Regions from separate parts of the Homo sapiens genome. Here region 1 is linked to region 2. Evidence: promoter capture Hi-C in human tissues and cell types (Jung and others, 2019). All regions are on one chromosome and are shown on one strand. The core of a region is centred on a gene start or on the middle of the fragment in contact, and the rest is flanking DNA. Distances in the headings are between cores, read along the strand shown. Region 1 overlaps CCDC136 (coiled-coil domain containing 136). Region 2 holds the start of HILPDA (hypoxia inducible lipid droplet associated).

What was found. The method cuts DNA at HindIII sites, captures the fragments that hold promoters and counts their contacts. A contact is called where the count stands out against the background at its distance.
Region 1: a fragment that was not itself captured here is called in contact with the fragment with the promoter of HILPDA in region 2 in 1 of the 25 tissues and cell types used here (hippocampus).

What each region holds. Positions count from the first base shown.
Region 1 is chr7:128,816,621-128,820,854 of GRCh38, forward strand. It overlaps CCDC136 (coiled-coil domain containing 136), which reads left to right. Exons shown (of 18, transcript NM_022742.5): 17 at 1,138-1,244. The coding sequence ends at 1,239. Among named protein-coding and RNA genes, the nearest start is that of FLNC, 12 kb to the right of the region's middle. The HindIII fragment of the contact is 4,770 bases long and covers 107-4,234 here.
Region 2 is chr7:128,453,584-128,457,987 of GRCh38, forward strand. It overlaps HILPDA (hypoxia inducible lipid droplet associated), which reads left to right and starts at 2,295. Exons shown (of 2, transcript NM_013332.4): 1 at 2,295-2,440; 2 at 3,618-4,404. The coding sequence starts at 3,686. The coding sequence ends at 3,877. It also overlaps the pseudogene EFCAB3P1. RefSeq lists enhancers at 323-1,029, 1,938-2,107 and a silencer at 2,208-2,347. The HindIII fragment of the contact is 5,129 bases long and covers 1-4,404 here.

The DNA of each region.
Region 1 (4,234 bases), core at 1,242-3,741, 360 kb after region 2:
AATGCCAGAGGTAACTTACCAACAATATAGAAGTACTTCCATATTTTAATAACTGGTACGTCTCTGCAGGTATGTAGCAACTGAATTCTTGCCCTGGACTTAACTCAGGGCTCAGAGTCCCTACAGAGTTAGAGTATTTCCTGTGTAAGTCCTCAGCTTACATTACAGGTTCTTTCTGTTCTAAACAGAGGTAAAGAAAAAAAGCCTCTTGTGGTGGGATTATCCAGTCAACTCTGAGGATATCTGGAATTTCCAGCAATTTGGTCTTCAGCACTGGCTAAGGATCCAGTGTGCAGTGCTCTGCTTACCTTGTGCCAGGGGACCATTACCTAAGATGTGGAAAGTCGGAACCACTGCAGCCCCTCCCACTATCATGTTTCCTTGAGCTCATCATATTCCACCACGTGCTGGTTCAGAGCCTCACAGATGTCTTTACCTTCGGTGCCACATTTCTAAAGCTAGACCTGATTTTTCTACTTCAAATATATTCTATGTTTCTATATATGGAGAGATCCCTTTGCCCCGTGGGTCCTGCGTCTTTTGCAGGCAGCTCTAGGGCATGTGTATTACCACCTTGCAAAATCGGTTTCTCTCTGGAAGATTGTTGCAGTGAAAGAACTAGCCCTTCTCCATTGTCAGTTTGTTTCGGTGCATGTTGTCTTACAATGATATCATTAGATTCCTAGGGGATCTAAGGGACCAGAGCCCAAAATACTAAGAAACTTAATGGAAAGCAGGCTAGAACAAAGGGACAGGTGACCTGGTAGAAGACTGGCTCTTCCTAGAGTGACCTAGGAAAAGTCACAAGAAAGGTCTAGATGCAGATACCTCCTGCTTGACAGGATATGAGAGGTATGTGACGAGACAGAAAGAAAACTGGACTCACCGCCTGACTTGGACCTAGCTGCTGCTTAACCCATTCAATTTTGCAATTCCTGCAGACTGCCGGTGGAAAGAACCAAGGCCCAGGCAGCAGAAAAGACATGCAACTGCTCTAGCTTACCTGTTTTTTAACCTCTTGATTCCTTTCTCTTTTCCCTTTGTTTTCTCATCTTCATTATCTGTTGGATCCATGCGTTTATGTCTCACATCTCCTGGTCTCTCCTCGTGCTTCTTTCTCATTTTGGTGTGTTGCAGTCATCCCCTACCCCCAATCCCCCCATCTTCTCCTTGCCTCTTGTAGGCCTGGTGGTCATCTCGGCTTTGCTCTGGTGCTGGTGGGCTGAGACGTCGTCCTAATGCAGGTACTGGTATTGCTTCCTCTCCTTCTGAGGGATAGAGGGAGGGTGCAGGTTGCCCTGGCCTCTCCTCTTTCCCTTTTCTCCCAGCTGCTTGCTTCTTGCTTGTGCCATTTTATAATAGGTGATGCTCAGGTCTGAGTTTTAGTTCTGACTTTTCCTTGGGCTACTGCAAAGCCTCTGACATCTCTGAGCATGTCTTCGTAATGCATAGGAGGTTGGAATGCTTGCCAGAGACATGGTTTGTTTCAATCCTTGGCTGGGAAAAACTTGGATAAGCCCAGCTTGGTTGCTGCTGTCAAAGCTGCCTCACTACTTCTTTATCCCCGCTCATCCTCTGTGTGATGGCTAGCCTGACCACTTCTGATGAGCTGATATTTGCAAGGCTGGCCTGGACTCTCTTTGTCTTGGTTTAACTCCGGAGCCAAGTTCTCACTACTGTTGCTACCCAAGATGGCAAAATAAGGAATCCCTCTTCTGTTGGGAGAGAGAGGAGCTCTGAAGAGCTCTGATCCTCATGATCCTCCCAGGGGCATTGGTAGGAGGGCAACCTAAGCTGGTCCATCAAGCTTGGTGAAATGGAACCGAACCCCTACTGTATTCTGCTCTTTCTACTGAACAGTTCTCTGCTTCTGGACTTCCAGTCTCCGGAAAAGTCAGAACAGAATGCCGGGAAATTTTATTAGTTATCTATTTATCTATTTTGTGGGCCAGATTCCATGGTAATTGGCTTCCCCAGCTAGGTTTTCTGGAGAGAATGAGGTATTAGTGAAAAGTTTCTACTAGCCAGAGATGTGTGTTCTCAGGAAATCAAGACTGATATATTCTGGCCACTTTCCTGTCAGCTCCCACACATGTAATGTACACTGTCAACAGGATACCAAATTCAGGAGGCAGAATGTGGTCTTACGGCCTAAGGTAGAAGCCTGGGGTTCCACCTGCCTTCTGGAACCCATAAGGTATTCTCTCTAGTCCTGCATTGGCTCCTCTCTCATGCTTTCCCTGCCTCCCCCTCCACTCCCCTCTCTTCTCACATTCCTGTGAACGGAATGTAGCTTAATGCACAGGGTGGCAACTGGAGGATTTGTTGGTGGCACTTCTCTCCATTTCCTTTTCTGTCCTTCCTCCTGCTCCCTCCCCAGCTTTCCTGTTACTCATCTTCAAGCCTCCACTTTTCTTCTTGACTTTAGGTATTCCCTTTACTCCCTGGTCCACAACTGCTTTAGTGACGGGGCCCCTCTCTATGACTGTTTCTCCCCTGTCACCCCCCAGAAGTCTTAAGGCACTACGGGTGAAACCCAAAGAGTTCAGCCACAGCCTTCCACTACCTCAGACCCAGCCCGGCCCAATCAGAGGGAGAGGAAGAACTGCTGGTGAAGGGTTCTCCTGGTGGGGCCTGTTATCCCCAGAGCTCCAGGAGGCCCCAACATGCACCTGTGCAGCCAGGACCTGAGGGAGCACAGTGTGGTAGAAAGCGTGGCTGCCAGGCGGTCAGAAGAACTTGGTTGAGTCTGTCTCTACTGACAGGCGTTGTCCCAGGGAGCAAAATGCACACTCTGAGCTCTAGTTTCTTCAAATGTAAGCAAAGGATGATCGAACCTCTGCCCTCCTCACAGGTTTTTGTCAGGACCAGATGGGTTGAAGTAGATGAAAGTATTCTATAAATTATAAAATACCCCATCATTAATAAAAAGAGCACGCACTTACAAAATGCAGTCTTATGTGTCAGGCACTGTTCTAATCACTTACGTATATTAACTGATTTAATCCTTGCAACAACCCCATGAAGAAGCTACTCCTATTTTTTTTTATATATGATTAAACTAAGGCATAGAGAAGTTAAGTAAAACAGCCAGGAAGCTGCGAGTCAGATTATAAGGACTCAATATTAGCAACAAATAAGATTCCAGTCTTGCTTCCCTTTATTGTCTCTCCTCATTTTGAGCAGTTTCTCTTCATTGGTCCCAAGTAGGAAGACACCATACTTGTGTTTAGGCAACCTCAGATCACATTAGCTCTTTAGGTAACTAATATATTATTTATTTATTTCATGTATTTTTTATAAGCCCCTCTGCAGATTGTGTATGCTAAGCGTCCTCTCCCCATTCTGTACCTGCATTTGATTTTGAGGCTTCAAAGGCAGAATTTTCCATTCTTCCCTATTATAGTTCATTGTTCTTACCTTATAAGGTTTTGTGTGTATGTGTTTTTAATCTTGACCCTGTGGTTTTAAAATATTCACTTCCTCTGCCACCTTCACATCATCTACAGGGGTGGCAAGCCCTCCTTCCCTGTCTTCATCTACAGAGGACAGAGTGAGGACAGAGCCTCTAGAGTGTCGTCTCTTGGGGTTCTTTTATTCAGCTCATTGGTCACTTACCTGCCATTCAACAAACTGTACTGTCATCCTACCCTTATTTCTGCATATTATCTGCAAAGATCATAGAAAATTCTGTCAAACAACTCAACGTCCAAAAACATGATTCCGGTGATTTGTCACTTAGGTCACCTAGTTTAAAAGGAGAGTTTGACACGACTTCCCCTTTGGGACACCCACACCAGCCCTTTCCCCATCCCATGTAGAAGCTTGCCTTTGCCCAGTGTGAGGTGCACGGGTCACATTTAAGGATTTCAGCTCCTCCCTCCTTTAAGAACACCAGACTAACATTCTTAGCAATGCACATTAGGATAGAGGCATCTGAGCATATAAATATTTTTTTCTAGCTAGCTCCCTTCTTAGTTTTTGTTTTTGGTTTTAGAGACAGGGTCTCGCTCTGTCACCGAGGCTAGAGTGCAGCGGCATGATCATGGCTCACTGTAACTTTGAACTCCCGGTCTCAAGCGATCCTCCTCCCTCAGCCTCCGGATCTCTTGGTTTTCTTACATGAGTTACTCTGTATATCCACCTGTAACATTGCTTGGCTTTCCATTTCATACCTTCTGTTGTTCTTAGTAGCTATTTCTATAAGCTCAGGAGATTTTCTTTGCTCTTTAGC
Region 2 (4,404 bases), core at 1,045-3,544:
ACTCTACCCCACACTGCCTTGGGTTGTTAGTTATCTTATCTTATTCAGGTCTTGTTTACTCAACCAGGTGACAAGCTTATTTAGAACAAGAATCTGGCTTTATACTTTTTAGCAAAATAATAGCTACTATTTGTTGAGCATATATGACATACTCTTTATGGGCATTATTTCCAACCCTCACAACAACCCTGTTTTACAGATTATTTTCCTCATTTTACAGATAAGGAAACTAAAGTTCAAAGGGGTCAGTTAGCCTGGCCAAGGTGTTGAAGGCAGGACTAAATCCTGATGCAGGTAGCTACATTTGTAGCTGACAGAATGGTAAAGCATAGAGCTGCCCTCACCCAAACCCTTCTTATTTCCAACTGGCATGACCTTTAGACAATGGCAGGGAATATGGGGAGAAAGAATTGTTGGAGAGGTGCCCATCCCTTCTTCCAGCTGTGTGAAGTATAAATTTAGAACTCAAACTAAGTAGAACTCAAATGGTCATTGTAGAATTCCTGCATTCATTCAGCAAGCCTAGGCTGCTAATGAGCAAAACCCCTCACTGGGAGTTTTGTAGTTGATGATACAGATAATGTTAAGATTCATAGAATGTTTTTTATGTGCCAGGCATTGTTCTAAGCGCTTTATATGGATTAATTCATTTAATATCAGGTTAAGACTGTTATGATCTCACAGAACAGCTGAGGAAACAGAACTACAAGAAGGTTAAAGGGTTCGCCCAAGGCCTTCACCTGGCAAAGTAGTGGCGTTTGGATCTGGCAGTGATTTCGCAGCTTGAGACCTATTTAATAACAGTGTGAGAGAAGGGTCACACAGTCAAGCAAAAAAACAGACGAAACTCTGGTATAGCGAAGGACCAAAAGTTCTGCGGGCTGAGCAGGAAAGTTGGCTCCAAATGTCTGCCTGCCTGCCAGCAGACCTCCAGCCCCAACCTTCTGCTTTCCCGGCTTCCCCACCCCCTCATTCCCGACAGACCACAGCCAGCCAGCCAGGAAAGGAGGGGAAAGGTCGCAGTGGGGATGGCTCCTCCCTTCCCGTCTTAGAGCCCTTCTTAAGCAGAGCCCGCCGAGCTCGCTGAGATGTGGAAAGTCACAGGGTTCTTTCCCATCCGGCACGGGCACTTGACCCGGGTACACGGAACCGCCAGTTCTAAAGCCACCAGCGGCCTTCCCTTCCACGGCGTGTACACCCCTTCCCGGGGGTCCTCCCCATTCCCAGTGTCTCTCCGGGACTCTACTTTCTGAGATCCCCCGTTGCGTGCTCTCAAGACAGACCGCACAGTCTTGGCTGGGTGGGTTCGGGGGTGATTAGTAAGGCAGCCTAGCCCCCCAAATCTGGACATAAGGCTGGTCTGTGACCTCCTGGCTCTTTAGTTCAAGCCGAAAGCACCCTTAAAAATCATCTAGCGGCCGGGCGCGGTGGCTCACGCCTGTAGCCCCAGCACTTTGGGAGGCAGAGGTGGGAGGATGGCTTGAGATCAGGAGTTCGAGACCAGCCTGGGCAACATAGCGAGACTGTCTCTATTTAAAAAAAAAAAAGAAGAAGAAGAAGAAAAATCATCTAGTGGCCAATGTCTTCATTACAGATGAGAAAACCGAGGCCCATTTAAATACCAAGTGACTTGCCCATATGCAGTTAGGATCCCACACCAGGGCCAGGAGTATTTCACGTTTTCTGAAGCGACACGACAAACTCTCATAGAAAGCAGAGCTTGCAGAGCTTAATATGTTGCACAAGGGCCTCACCATTCCAGAGATACCGATGGCAACTGAAACTCGGGATTTGGAATCTTGGTACAGCTATGAAGTGAAACAAAACCAGCTCTTCAGTCCTTGAAATGAAGAAAATAACGAGTGGGGTAGGGGTCTGGTGCCCTCTGACAATTTAGTGCACCCGAAATCTCTGGGGAAGAACCCACCCTTCACGGCGGGGCTTCACGGACACGAAGGCCATCGGTGTTTTTCACCTACTGGGGAGAAGGGATATGTGCTCTCTGACTCCTTCAAATGTTTTCTACAGCAGAGATGGCAGTCGAGATTAATACACACGCCTCGTCTCACTCCAGAACACAATGACTCAAAACCGCACGACGTGTACTTTTGGAAACAGCTCCGCGGGAGAGCACCCGGGACAATCCCCAAACCCCGTTGCCCGCGGGGTGGGGCCGCGGACGTGCGCCACGTCGTGTGCGTCCCGGGCGTGCGTGCGGCCTCCAGTGCGCGTGCGCGTACCCTCCTGGGGCGTGCTCGCGGCTATAAGGGGCGGAGGCTGGGCGGCGTTGCTCTGCGCTCTGCGGCTGACGGCGCTTTTGTCTCCGGTGAGTTTTGTGGCGGGAAGCTTCTGCGCTGGTGCTTAGTAACCGACTTTCCTCCGGACTCCTGCACGACCTGCTCCTACAGCCGGCGATCCACTCCCGGCTGTTCCCCCGGAGGTGAGCGGCCCTGTGGGCTTCCCCGGCTCCCCACCCCCATCGCTAGAGTGCTCGCCGCGCTAGCAGCCTCGCGTTCCAGGGCTGGGGGTGCGCCGCCGGGATCCTCTCTGATCGCCCACGCCCCATCTGGGGTCCCCATTCAGCCGTCAGCCCTGTTTTGTCCTAAGGTGGTCCTAACTAGGATCCACGTGGCCCATCCCACGCCCACAGGTGCTGAGTTAGGCATCCCTGCCATGCCCTCCCAGAGCACCTTCACGATCTCCTTGCTGTCCCAACACTTAGCGTGTTGCGTGTTAACTACCCTTTGTCTATAAGGTTTGCAATGTGGCCCTAGTATCTTCCAGGGTACCTAACACATTGCAGATATTCATGGTATGTTTGTTAAATAAATGAACTTGATAGATTTGACCCTCATAGAGTTATTTGGACTTGCAAAAAGTTTGTAGTTAACTCCAATCTGTGATGTGGGAGAGACTTCTAGGCAGGTTCCTTTCTCCAGGGCATGTTCTTATATTTCCCATTACCCACCACCCCCCTGCAAAAGGACTGGGCCTATTTCAGGAAGGTGACTGATGCCTGCACTGTAGCACAGGGGTTGTGTATTGTGCCTTGCAGGAACAAAATTTTCAATAAAGTAAATGTTTGTTTGTTTGTTTTTGAGACGGAGTTTTGCTTTTGTTGCCGAGGCTGGAGTGCAATGGCGCGATCTTGGCTCACTGCAACCTCTGCCTCCCGGGTTCAAGCAATTCTGCCTCAGCCTCCCGAGTAGCTGGGATTACAGGCATGTGCCACTATGCCCGGCTAATTTTTGTATTTGTAGTAGAGACAGGGTTTCACCATGTTGGTCAGGCTGGTCTCGAATTCCTGACCTCAGGTGATCCACCCGCCTCGGCCTCCCAGAGCGCTGGGATTACAGGTATGAGCCACCGCGCCTGGCCTAAGAAAGTAAAAGTTTTAAGAAGTGTTCTTGAATTAGTCCAAGAAGCAACACTGGCTCCGCAGCCATGAAGTTTGCAATGTAAAATATTCTTGGAGAGTTGCTGTGCAACTCCCTGGTCCCTGTGTCCCTCACTGGCTAAGCCTCTCCTTCAGCCCTGTGAGAGGACAGAAGAGTCAGGGCTGGATGCATGCATATCCCCAAAAGGCTATAGATTCATCCTTTCCTCTTTTTTCTCAGGGTCCAGAGGCCTTTCAGAAGGAGAAGGCAGCTCTGTTTCTCTGCAGAGGAGTAGGGTCCTTTCAGCCATGAAGCATGTGTTGAACCTCTACCTGTTAGGTGTGGTACTGACCCTACTCTCCATCTTCGTTAGAGTGATGGAGTCCCTAGAGGGCTTACTAGAGAGCCCATCGCCTGGGACCTCCTGGACCACCAGAAGCCAACTAGCCAACACAGAGCCCACCAAGGGCCTTCCAGACCATCCATCCAGAAGCATGTGATAAGACCTCCTTCCATACTGGCCATATTTTGGAACACTGACCTAGACATGTCCAGATGGGAGTCCCATTCCTAGCAGACAAGCTGAGCACCGTTGTAACCAGAGAACTATTACTAGGCCTTGAAGAACCTGTCTAACTGGATGCTCATTGCCTGGGCAAGGCCTGTTTAGGCCGGTTGCGGTGGCTCATGCCTGTAATCCTAGCACTTTGGGAGGCTGAGGTGGGTGGATCACCTGAGGTCAGGAGTTCGAGACCAGCCTCGCCAACATGGCGAAACCCCATCTCTACTAAAAATACAAAAGTTAGCTGGGTGTGGTGGCAGAGGCCTGTAATCCCAGCTCCTTGGGAGGCTGAGGCGGGAGAATTGCTTGAACCCGGGGACGGAGGTTGCAGTGAGCCGAGATCGCACTGCTGTACCCAGCCTGGGCCACAGTGCAAGACTCCATCTCAAAAAAAAAAGAAAAGAAAAAGCCTGTTTAATGCACAGGTGTGAGTGGATTGCTTATGGCTATGAGATAGGTTGATCT